Regions from separate parts of the Homo sapiens genome. Here region 2 is linked to region 1. The links are contacts of gene promoters, found by promoter capture Hi-C in human tissues and cell types (Jung and others, 2019). All regions are on one chromosome and are shown on one strand. The core of a region is centred on a gene start or on the middle of the fragment in contact, and the rest is flanking DNA. Distances in the headings are between cores, read along the strand shown. Region 1 holds the start of CA14 (carbonic anhydrase 14). Region 2 overlaps OTUD7B (OTU deubiquitinase 7B).

What was found. The method cuts DNA at HindIII sites, captures the fragments that hold promoters and counts their contacts. A contact is called where the count stands out against the background at its distance.
Region 2: a contact is called between a fragment that was not itself captured here and the fragment with the promoter of CA14 in region 1, in 5 of the 25 tissues and cell types used here (dorsolateral prefrontal cortex, hippocampus, lymphoblastoid cells and 2 more).

The regions. Positions count from the first base shown.
Region 1 is chr1:150,255,292-150,261,561 of GRCh38, forward strand. It overlaps CA14 (carbonic anhydrase 14), which reads left to right and starts at 2,483. Exons shown (of 11, transcript NM_012113.3): 1 at 2,483-2,892; 2 at 4,860-4,880; 3 at 6,168-6,270. The coding sequence starts at 2,838. RefSeq lists an enhancer at 673-1,367. The HindIII fragment of the contact is 12,121 bases long and covers 1-6,270 here.
Region 2 is chr1:150,002,777-150,009,046 of GRCh38, forward strand. All of the region lies in intron 1 of OTUD7B (OTU deubiquitinase 7B), which reads right to left. Among named protein-coding and RNA genes, the nearest start is that of OTUD7B, 4.8 kb to the right of the region's middle. The HindIII fragment of the contact is 6,747 bases long and covers 1-6,270 here.

The DNA.
Region 1 (6,270 bases), core at 1,233-3,732:
CAACCTCCCACTCCCGAGTTCAAGCAATTCTCCTGCCTCAGCCTCCTGCGTAGCTGGGATTACAGGCATGCACCACCACGCCTGGCTAATTTTTGTATTTTTAGTAGAGACGAGGTTTTGCTATGCTTTGGCCAGGCTGGTCTGGAACTCCTGGCCCACCTGCCTCGGCCTCCCAAAGTGCTGGCATTACAGGCGTGAGCCACCACGCCTCATCTCAGTCAAGTTTCAGTATATCTACAAGGACAGGAGATGGCGCCAGAAGGCAGTGAGATGCTTGGTTTTGGTTTTAACGGTTTTAGCCAATGCAAGCAAGGAAAGGGCTTGAGAGAGAGGTCAGAACTAAAACAAAGGTGCCAGAGTTTGAGTGGAAACTAAGACTGAGTGGGGAGAGGGAGCTGTGTCAGTTTTTTTTTTTTTAACTTACATATAAGGGTCCCCTTGACACCTACTCCAAATCAGCACAGCTAGAAAGCAACAAAAGAAATATCCACAGTAAAGCCAAAGATCAAGATAAAGTCAAGTGCCTGGAGGACGGCGCTCGCCTTCTGGCTCCCTCTGTCCTAGAAAGGAGGGCCTTTGTCGTCTGGGAAGCATAAGCACCTGGATGCGTTGCTCACCCAAGATCAGGGAAGTGTTGATTCCAGGCTAAGATATCTTTGTGAAACAATGTTCAGTTGCGTAGGCAAAATCCCAAAGCCCAGCAGCAGTGAAATACCTCCCAGAAGGAACCACATACACAAAGCATTTTAAATTAAAATTTAAAAATTCATAGACGAGCCAGGAGGTGGCGCCTGGCAAGACACGCTATCTGCCTTGGAAATCGGAATCTCAGCTCAGCGCTCCAGGGGAACTCTGTTCCGGCAGAGGTCATTCTGTTCAGACCTCTTCTTTCCTACTAAATCTCTTCTTTCATACCAAGATGTCTCTGCTTTCTTTTTTTGTTTCTTTGTGTTAAGTACCCTGATTCCCGGGAAATCTAATTTATACTTCAAGTCTTTTACTCTTCTTAGATGGGATGGATGGGGCTTTGGGGAACCTCAAAACATAAAACTTTCCTGAAGGGGACAAATAACTCAGAGGGTGATAGGAGAAGAAAAAGGGAAATGACATCAGCAAAATGGCTTGGCTTTGCAGATCAATCACAGGGGATAGAAAGGCACAGTGAGCTCCTGTCTCTGCAGGAGCTGATGATCCAGCACATGCATTATTCTGTTCATTTGGCTTTTATCCTGCTCCCTTATTTAGCTTCTGCTCCCTTTGTTTGGCTATTTATTGCTACTCGGCAGGAGCAAGGAGGGCAGAGGGAGCTTCAGATGGGTGCATCCTCCTGGCTGGTGCCTCTGGTGAAGAGCATGGAGGAGAAAGAGGTTTCAATGTCTGGCTTGAAAGTATCTGTGGGTTTCACATTCTCTAACGAGGGATTTAGGATGTACATTCCAATCGGGATTTCCAGTCCCGTGGGGAGCAAACATCAGTTCACATTCCTGAGACGTGCAGCCTCCATGCTCCACGGACGCAGCTCCTTGGTGGCAGGTTTCATTCAGTGCCACATGTCCTGCCTCAGCCCTTTGTTGGGCTGGAAGGAAGACCCTGAGCCCCTCTTCCATCTGGATCACATGGTCTCTCCAGACCCTCCCCTCTCTTTCTCTGGAAACCACCTTTTTCTGATGGTGGTAGTGATTGTTCCTAAAGTCTCTCCTTTCCTCCTGCCCTGGCCTCTCTGCCGGAGGTCAGTGTCCTCTTCAGTGACAAAAGCCGCCCTAGATCTGGGCTCCCTGGAGAGGGAGGTGGCTGGGTCTGGCAGTTACAGCCGCTGTCTCTCCATGGTGCTGCTACACCCCTCCCCCACTGGGCATACAAATGGGCTTTATCCAGCAAACAACGCTCCCTCCCCGCACTCCCCCCACCCCAGGCCACACAGGCACGTGGACCCAGGCCTCACCGTGGGAAGGGGGTGGTGGCAGGCACAGAAGAGATTGCTCCAGATGAGTTCTCCTTGCCTCACTTCTCTTCCTTAGAACTTAGGACACAACTCAGGTTTTAGTTATTGACTTCCTCCACCCCTCCCCTGCACCCTGAGTCCCTAATTCCTTCTTGTTATATATCTCCTAATTCTGGACTCTTCCCATTCCAGGGCAGCTCAGATTATGCAGGGAATTGGGAACAGGTACCCCCACCATCTGCCGCATACCACCCAGGGAGCTGCTCCTCAGAGGAGAAATCAGGCGGGGGGATGAAAATACAGTGTCCTTTTGAGGGGGCTGAGTTGAACCCCAAAGCCCCTTCCTTGACCCTGCCTGCTCCAGGGAACACCCATCTAAACAGCATCTGTGTGACTAGCAGAGGAAGGAAGAGCTCACCCCAGCTGGGCTCCTGAGCCAGGGCCAGGGCTCCAGTGAAACTTGCCGCGCTCCAGCTCCGAGTGGGGCCATCCTGCATGCCTAATTGGCTATTTAAGGAGCTGTTCACCAGCAGCCCAGGCAGCACCCCCGTCCCCACATACACCAGTTCAGAGCCACCTTAAAAGCAGGAGGCAGTTGTAAAGTCGCTGGCCAGCTAGTGGAGTGGAGACTGCAGAGGGAGATAAAGAGAGAGGGCAAAGAGGCAGCAAGAGATTTGTCCTGGGGATCCAGAAACCCATGATACCCTACTGAACACCGAATCCCCTGGAAGCCCACAGAGACAGAGACAGCAAGAGAAGCAGAGATAAATACACTCACGCCAGGAGCTCGCTCGCTCTCTCTCTCTCTCTCTCACTCCTCCCTCCCTCTCTCTCTGCCTGTCCTAGTCCTCTAGTCCTCAAATTCCCAGTCCCCTGCACCCCTTCCTGGGACACTATGTTGTTCTCCGCCCTCCTGCTGGAGGTGATTTGGATCCTGGCTGCAGATGGGGGTAGGTACAACTAAATGTCTGTGTGTGGATTTGTGCTGATGTTCACATGTCGCCAGGTGTGCTTAATGGGGGGAGGAGAGGTGTGAAAGGAAGCCTAGAGGCTGGAATAATAGGCTCAGAGATGAGGAAAAAAGAGTGGGGTGTGGAGGAGACCACTTCCCTTCTTTACCTTTTGTCTCTCCAGCCTTGTTGTTATTGGAGGTCGGGGAGAACTAGCGGCAGGCAGGCAGAGTGTGTACACATGCAAGTGCTGGAATCTCTTTGCAGGCTACAGATTTTCTCCAGAGCTCTTTCCCCCACTGCCCTGGTCCCAGGCAGGACTCCTGGACTTCTTTATTTACAAACTCCTCCAAATAGGGAGTCAAAGAGGCCTGGAGTAAAAAGATGGATAGATGGGGGTAGGGGGAAGAATACTTCCTGCCCAACTCAGACCCTGATCTCCAATTCATCCCCTTTTGGCCAAGATTCCCTCTTCATTCTGTGGAGCGACTAACTCCCCAGTTATCCTCTGAAAGTGGCAGTAAGAGTCAACATTTGTTTGACATTTTACAGTTTACAAAGGACTTTCAGGAGCTCCCAGGAGATGAGGAGGGATTCTTGGGAGAACAGGCTGAAGCGCTCCAGGAGTGTCCCCAGGAACTCCTAGACCTCATTTTTGTGTTTCCTGTGCCTAGCACAGTGTCCAGCACATACTAGGTGTGTAACTGAGGTTTGTGGAAAGAGCAGGGTGAGGTGGGTGTCCAGAGAGCAGAAGGCAAATGCAGAGAGGATGGGGGCAGGCAGGCAGCCAAATGGAGAGTCACAAATCTCATCTGAGGAGAAAGAAAAAAAGAGGGAAAGAGGAGGAAGAGACAGAATAAGTGTGTTGAGGCTCTGACCAGAGTGGACAGGCACCTTTACAGACCAGGGAGTTTGAGTTGTTGGGGGGTCCCACAGATATGGTAAAATGAGAGGCTGCCTCCAGCTCTCCCTTGGGCTAGCAGAATAGGTCAAGGATAAGAGCAGGACATCTCACAAGTTTGAGGAATTTAAGGGAATAAGAGACAGAGAGAGGAAGGAATTTAGGATTTTTCTCCAGAGTTTCTAGTAGTATGAATATTGCAGCATAAACCATGAAGGCCTTCGTTTTCTTCTTGAGGCAGTTTGGCCGTAGGGAGGGGCTGGACCTGCAGACCCTCAGCCTTTGCGTCAGACAGGACTGCACGAGAGCCTGGCATGTGACCCAGCTGGCAGCTCTCTTCTCTACACACAATGCTTCACTTTCATCCTGTCCCTGCCAGCCTGGCTGCCTGTGCCCACCCACCACCCTCAATCTAGAGTAGACCCTGCCCTGACTCCCACCCTTCCCTAACCATCTCAGAATGTAGGGAGCAGAGCCTCCTGGTGATGAGGAGTTTCCTCTAGAGCTAATGGGACCAGAAAAGAAGAATTTACATATGAGTTTACAGCTCAGTGGCTTTATTCATGCAATTTTTTAAAGCAAAGGAATAATCTCCCCTTCTCCCCTCAGTAGCACCCCCCAACACACACACACTCTAAACTCCTTTCTCCTCCCCGCTTTCTAGTCCCTATCCTTCCAACCCTCTGCCCACACCCTCACCCCACCCACCCCAATCTTCTAAGTGTTAGATTGACTTGGCACAGGTTACAGAAAAGAAAGGGTTGGGCCAATCGCACATTTGGATCCAGGTTAATTTTAGTCTCTGGGCTTTACCTCTTTTCCTTCCTCCTCCCCTTTTACTCGGCAGGCACCAACACAGCCTGGCTGGTGATTTTAAATAGGCCCCCCGACCTTTCCACAGAGGTGTCCGGTTTCAGGGCTTCCTTTGCAAAGTGCTGGAGCAGAGGGAGGAGAGACTGCAGAGAGGGAGGTGGAGCAGTACAGAATGCCAGAGGGAGGGGAGTGTGGAGGCCAGGGTTCTGCCCCAGGCTGCGCTGGCTGTAACCCAAACTATTCTGCCTTGCAGGTCAACACTGGACGTATGAGGGTGAGCAGATCTCAAGGCCTCCCGACAACCCTTTCACACTGGGACCTCCTCACCTGGCAGGAAGACACACTGTGCGGGTGGGAGGAGACTTCCTTTACCTTCTCACCCTAGCTCCTCCCTTCTGGATCTCCTCCTGCCTTGAGTTTCACATATATGGCTCCTAGATCCTGCTCTAATCATCAAATCCTACACCTCCTGATTTGGCAGAAAAGCTAGTTAAGTCCTCAGTAAATCGTGTAGGAGTGAGGGAGCTGGGGTGGAAAGGAAGCTGGGTGGGAACTCTGAGCTTAGCTGCCAGGTCTCCTTCTGGCTCCGTCTATCCTAATCCATCCTACCCCTAACCTGCATCTGAAATTGGGACAGAGCTGGAGGTCAGGGGTGAGGAAGAGGCTGGCAGGATAGTTTCTGACCCTGGGGGAGGTGGAACTCAGTTCCTATGAACTACTGATTAATGACTTAACCAAACTCAAGTTCATGATAAACGGTCAGTGTGAGAGCAAGAAGTGAATGATGAGAAGTCAGGATATCTGAATCCCAAGGCCACTTGATAGGGGCCTCCAGGAGACCGTATCTCTCTAGGTTATTTTTTTTTTTTTTTTTTTTTTTGACACAGAGTCTTGCTCTGTCACCCAGGCTGGAGTGCAGTGGCGCAATCTGGGCTCACTGCAAACTCCACCTCCTGGGTTTAAGTGATTCTCCTGCCTCAGCTTCTCGAGTAGCTGGGATTACAGGTGCCCACCACCACGTCTGGCTAATTTTTGCATTTTTAGTAGAGATGGGGTTTCACCATGTTGGCCAGGCTGGTCTCGAACTCCTGACCTCAAGCGATCCACCTGCCTCGGCCTCCCAAAGTGCTGGGATTACAGGCATGAGCCACTGTGCCTGGCCTATCTAGGATCATTTTATTTCTCCCATTTTTCTACTCCTACTCTCTAATCCCATCTCTCAGGGTATTCAGGTTTTCTATGCATCCCCTCTGCCCTCATTCAGCTTTCTTGTCCTCAAAATACAGGTAAGTAAAAGAGCTACCACTCCCCATTCATCAGGATAGTTGGGGAATCATCACTGCCTCTGGGTAGGGAAGGGGAACTGCAGCATGAGACTCAACAGGACTCCTACCTCACCCATCCCTATACAACTGGGGTCTTAACCTGGGTGGAGGGAAGTCCATTTCTACCTCCACACAGATGTATGGCTTGGTTAGGGGAAGGGTCAAAGGGAGGGGGTGCTGTTGAAGGGTAGCTAGAGCTGGAGGACAGGACCAATGTCTTTGGTAACCCCCACCAGGCCCACATGGTCAGGACCATTGGCCAGCCTCTTACCCTGAGTGTGGAAACAATGCCCAGTCGCCCATCGATATTCAGACAGACAGTGTGACATTTGACCCTGA
Region 2 (6,270 bases), core at 1,833-4,332, 250 kb before region 1:
CGCCAGTTGTCTGATTCCATGAATCTGTAAATATGATCACTCTCAATAAATGTGTTCAGTATAATGAAGTTATTGAAAGGAATTCTGCTTTCTCCATCTCCAATCCACCCTACACACCACTGACATAATCTTTCTAGGATGTGAAACGTATTAAATGGCTCCTGATATACTGCAGTATAAGATAAAGCTCCAGGCCGGGCGTGGTGGCTCTCGCCTGTAATCCCAGCACTTTGGGAGGCCGAGGCGGGCGGATCGCGAGGTCAGGAGATCAAGACCATCCTGGCTAACATGGTGAAACCCCGCCTCCACTAAAAATACAAAAAATTAGCCGGGCATGGTGGCGGGCGCCTGTAGTCCCAGCAACTCGGGAGGCTGAGGCAGGAGAATGGCGTGAACCCGGGAGGCGGAGCTTGCAGTGAGCTGAGATTGTGCCACTGCACTCCAGCCTGGGTGACAGAGCAAGACTCTGTCTCAAAAAAAAAAAAAAAAAGATAAAAACTCTGTATGATCCAGCGTTGCCTACCTCTTCAGCCTGCCCTCCATCCCATCCTCCAGCCATAATGATTAAGTAAAAGTTACCTGAAGAAGTCTGGCCTTCATTCCTTTAAGCTTTTGTTCATGGTATTTTCTCAGACTGGAATGTAATTCTTGTCATCTGTAGAGTATATCCTTAATTCATCTTTCAAGACTCAGCTCAAATGCTAACTCCTCAGGGAGGCTCTTTCCAACCTCAGCATGCCCAAGGCAGAACTGACCCTTGGGCTCCCACTCTCCCTGCTGCATACTTCTATCACAGCATCTATCACACTTCATTCTATCTATATATTTACATATCTGTCTCCTCCCACTAGACCCATACGCTCCTCGTGGGTTCCTTGTCTCCCTTACCTCCATCTCAGTGCCTAGGATGGTGTTTACAAGATAGGAGACATGTTTAGGTTTAGACGTGTTTAGGTTTATCAGTACCATTTTCTTTGCCCTTCTGCTCTTTCCCTAAACTTTAGTCCTCAGAGAGCTTATTAATTCTCTTGGCTACAGCTACCACATCTAGGCCATGAATTGCAAAACTGCATTTCCAAACCTACCCCCATCTTTACTCCAGCTCACACCCAGGACAGCCTTCATTTGGACATTTCATTGCCACTTTAAATCCAACACATCGCAAATTATACTCATCATATTTCCCCAAAATGAGGAAAGCTTCCTAACTTCTTTATTTCACTCAATGTCTCAGACACCCAGGCACAACGTGTCACAGTTGTAGTTGACTCATCACCCTTCTTCATCTCCCACATCCACCCCTCATTAATTTCCATTTTTCCTTCACAGTCTCTTTTTCACTCTTTCCTCTCCTTAGCCTACCCTCCACAACTCTAACTCGGGCCTCATCACTTCACACACCCCCAGTGTCAATCTCCATTCCCTCCCAGCCAACCTGTGTATTAGTATCATCATACTGCTATTCTATTCAAAAATCTTCTACCATTTAAAATATAAAGTTGACCGGGCACGGTGGCTCATGCCTGTCATCCCAGCACTTTGGGAAGCTAAGGTGGGCGGATCACTTGAGGTCAGGAGTTTGAGACCAGCCTGGCCAACATGGTGAAATCCTGTCTCTACTAAAAATACAAAAATTAGCTGGGCATGCTGGTGCACGCCTGTAATCCCAGCTACTCAGGAGGCTGAGGCACGAGAATCACTTGAACCCAGGAGGCGGAGGTTGCAGTCAGCCAAGATTGTGTCACTGCACTCCAGCCTGAGCTGGACAACAGAGCAAGACCCTGTCTCAAAAAAATAAATAAATAAATACATAAATAAATAAATAAATAAATTTTATATATATATATAAACTTATAAGCCTAGCTTTTTAACACCCTCTATAAACATAGCTCCAAACCAACCTACCCACCTTCATTTCACTACTGCTCACTGCCACTCAGGTTAGTCTCCTCACCGCCCCAAGAACATCTCAGGTATAGTCCTGTTTCCAGGCTTTCGCTTGATCCCTTTCAGCTCCAATATGAAATGTTTTGTTATCCTCTTCATCTTCATCCCTTGTACCTAATACAATAACACTTATTCATTTATTTTTTTATTTATTTTGGAGACAGAGTCTTGCTCTGTCACCCAGGCTGGAGTGCAGTGGTGCTATCTCGGCTGTTTGCAACCTCCATCTCCTGGGTTCAAGTGATTCTCCTGCCTCAGCCTCCTGAGTAGCTGGGATTACAGGCGTGAGCCACTGTGCCTGGCCTATTTTTTTATTAAGATCTGAAATGAGTTATAATTCCTCTGTGACATAACTACCTGAGTACTCCTCTCCCCAAATACCTACGGTATGAGGTCTGCACTATGCAACTAACAATATAGTTTCACATTTTAAAATTTTGTGTGGCATATTAAGAGGCTCAGCAAGTATTCATTCCTTTTTATTCTTCTTACTCCCAACTGGACTGTAAACTCTTCAAGGACACAAAGTTGTCATTTTTCCTAATCCTCCATAGCACCTAGCAAAGAATTAAACTCATAGTGGGTCACTACAAATAACAGTTTAGTAATTTTCTTATCTACAGCTATTTCTTAGAGGAAATAAAGGGCTAAGGTATAATCCTAAAAAAAGCACAGTTGAAAATAATCCCTATCTAGTTGTATAAAATAAGATTCCTGACTTTTCCACCTGATTTCTAGCTCAGAAATACTACAATCTCCTGACTCAAGAAGTAAATAATAATCCTGTGCTCGTGACATCAGTTTGGTAATGATTATAAAGAGGTGGGGGAGAGTGGCAGGGATGGAGAAAAGCAAGTCAACTGGAGAAGAAAAAAAAGGGATGAAAGAATGGCATGTGATTTTGTTTACTTCTTAAATGTGGACACTTCTGCCCATTCCTTTTTTTTTTAATTGGACATACTTTCAAACAACTTTCCTACAGGAGGAAAAGTCTGACAGATTTTCAATGAAGCTGATATCTGGAAGAGCCTCTACAAAGCACAAGTCCTTTGAGAAAGCCGGCTTAATCTTCAACAACACAACATAATGTAGTGGCATTCGTCCAGATACTGTGAATGAAGGCTCATTCTGGCTGGAACACAAGCATCACCTGCCAGTCATTCTCAGACATAAGACAGACAGCCTAGGAGGCCACATTGGATCCATACAGATTTTGAAAAGAAATTGGTCTATCAACATATTCAGTGTAGTCTAGTCTTAATTATCTACAAATGGATTATTCATTTTACGGATTTCTAAGGCCAAATCTTTAATGCAAGAATGACTGTTCTTCATCATCAGTGTACTCTCCCCACCATCAGGTAATATAAGCTTAGAAATGCAAATTTATTTCAATATTAGTATGATCCCCAAAAATGAAAATAAATCTAGTTTAAAAAATAATGTATTTTCGGCCCGGCACACTGGCTCACGCCTGTAATCCCAGCACTTTGGGAGGCCGAGTCAGGCGGATCACGAGGTCAGGAGATCAAGACCATCCTGGCTAACACGGTGAAACCCCGTCTCTACTAAAAATACAAAAAATTAACCGGGCGTGGTGGTGGGCGCCTGTAGTCCCAGCTACTCGGGAGGCTGAGGCAGGACAATGGCATGAACCTGGGAGGCAGAGCTTGCAGTAAGCTGAGATTGCGCCACTGTACTTCAGTCTGGGAGCAAAGTTGTCATTTTTCCTAAACCTCCATAGCACCTAGCAAAGAATTAAACTCATAGTGGGTCACTACAAATAACAGTTTAGTAATTTTTCTTATCTAAAACTATTTCTTAGAGGAAATAAAGGGATAAGGTATAATCCTAAAAAAAACACAGTTGAAAATAACCAGGAAATGTCTTTGTTAAGTTCTGAATTACCTACAACAGTGCTCCCTACATTAGCAGAGACAACTGAGAGTTAAATGCACTTGAAACATAATGCTGTCCTTACTATAAGCTCTTGAGGAGAATCCGGCCATAGTCTTGAGACTTCCCCACAGGTTGGTGCACTACGAGACAGGAACAAGCAGGCTCAGCATAGTAAGGTGTGTAAACACAAAAACTTCTACAAGGAATCTTATGCCTCCTGGCTGTATCCCTTCAGGTTAGGATGGTACAGAAAATAAGAGTCACAATGTACGGATGCCTGCCTGATTCCTTGTCCCTGAGTTCCTGAACCAAAGGGCTCAATATTTCTCATTAAATCCGTCCTTTGTTCAAGGACCTACAATGATTCTATTGACCCTTCTATCAACACCCAACAGAGTCTGGCTTCTGAGTCCCCTCCACCCTCTTGCCTGCTCTACTCATGACTTGCCCAACCCACATTCTCTACAGTCACTCTCATATATTCCCCCCACTCACAACTTAGTCATTCATATCATCATTGCACACTGTACATTCTATACTTTCTGTTTGGAAGATCCTTTCTTTTCTTTTATTCCCAACACAGTAACTATTTCATTTACTTGAATGCTCACATTTTACAGATAAGGAAAAGAAGTTAACTTGTCCAAGGTCACATGGTAAAAAATAGCCGCAAGGTCTGAACGAAGACCCATCTAACTCAATAGCCCATACCTCTTTATGACTCATCCATAGCCTCCCAAGTCCATTTCAAAATTTACTGACTCAGAAATCTCCCCAATTTATTTCACTGATTCTTACTTTGTTACTTTAAGTCTTCTCAGCCCTTACATACTTATCAGCACGTTAAATTTGCTTTTGTCTATATGTTGTTTCCTAAATGTTAAAGCTCATAATAGTCTGCCTTCCCATATTTATACACCACCTTTCCCATCCACCCTCAACCCCAAGAGCAAAGACACATGTCTTTACATCTTTTATACCTCCCTAAAGCCTGTCACTGGAGCATGGAGACTGCTTTATCCAGAGAAGTGTTCAATCATTACTCAGCAAGGATGTCTTATTTAAAAACAAACAAACAACTCTCTTCTATTATATTAAAAAGTCAACTGAATTCAGGCATTCATGAGAAAAACTGCCCTGTATCTATCTTCCAGTTACACAAATTTTTAATTACCTGAATTTATCAGAGGCTACAAAAAAGATTCCACAGTCTGCTATTCCACAGCTCCTAAGTTCCCATAGGAAAGATACTGCTGAGGTCACATTTCAAAGCGCTGTTTAAGGATTTTCCCTTTGGTGGGATGAGTGTTTAGGGTAAGGAGAGTGCTACTCATACACACATACACCCACACTATAATGGCCAGTGTCTTTTAGCATGCTTAAGATACTCAGGAGCTCCAAAACTTTGACAAGTGGCACTTAGTGCCCTCATAACAATCAGAATACTTATTTTGGTTACATACATTGAATCTCAAAATTGCAAATAAAGCCTCCTGAGAACTAGGAATAGTGGTGGACTACCAGGCAGCTCTCCACTCATTCCTAGGCTTCTTCAACCCCTTTGATCCCCATGCCCTGGAATAAAGTATGCAGTTCAACTTAGGGAGTTGCTAGATGCAGATATAAATAGAATTTACCCAGATATCATCACTAATATTGGCACCAATCAACTCACACAGATCAAAACAATTATTGATCATCAACAGATTCTGGGAAAGGTGTATGTGGTTTTTAAAAATTAGATTTTCGTCTCCAAATTAAGTCGTTTTTTAAATAGGGGTCTCAAAAGAAAGATTAAACAAATAAAGCTTTGGGAAATTTTCCAAGTTGTTGGCAACATAAGGCCACTAAAGGCCACCTAATGATTAGCATTCATTACCAGTCACCGGGCCTTATACAAGTCAGTAGATAGCCAGCTCTTGCTTTGGCAAAGTTTTACATTTTTTTCCGAGGGAGTCTTCAGTATTAAAAGCAAGGAATAAGTCAAATAAGGCAATGACAATAAAAAATTAGTTTGGCACTATCTTCCTTCCATCTTTCCTTCTATCTTGAAAGTGTAATGTCCAAAGCAGATATCTGTTCAATTCTAAATTATTCATGTTAACGGATAATTATTGGCAGAAAGGTGGTGATAATCAAAAATGAGGGTAAAATCGAAAAAATCTATTTTGGTTTTGGAATATATGTTTTCAGCATATTTACCTTCTTAATTATTCCTAGTATGAGCTAATATTTGCATTGATTTGCAATCTCTAAGTACATAGTAACTGGCCACTTTGTCAGGGAGGTGCTCTGAGGCAAGCTGGGTCAATAGTGGAAATTAGAACGGTCGGGGGTATTCAGCCTGCAGAGGAGCAACATCAAGTTCATTTATTTTACAGTTTTGTTCAGCCTTCAAAATATCAATAGACTAGCACAGCAGGT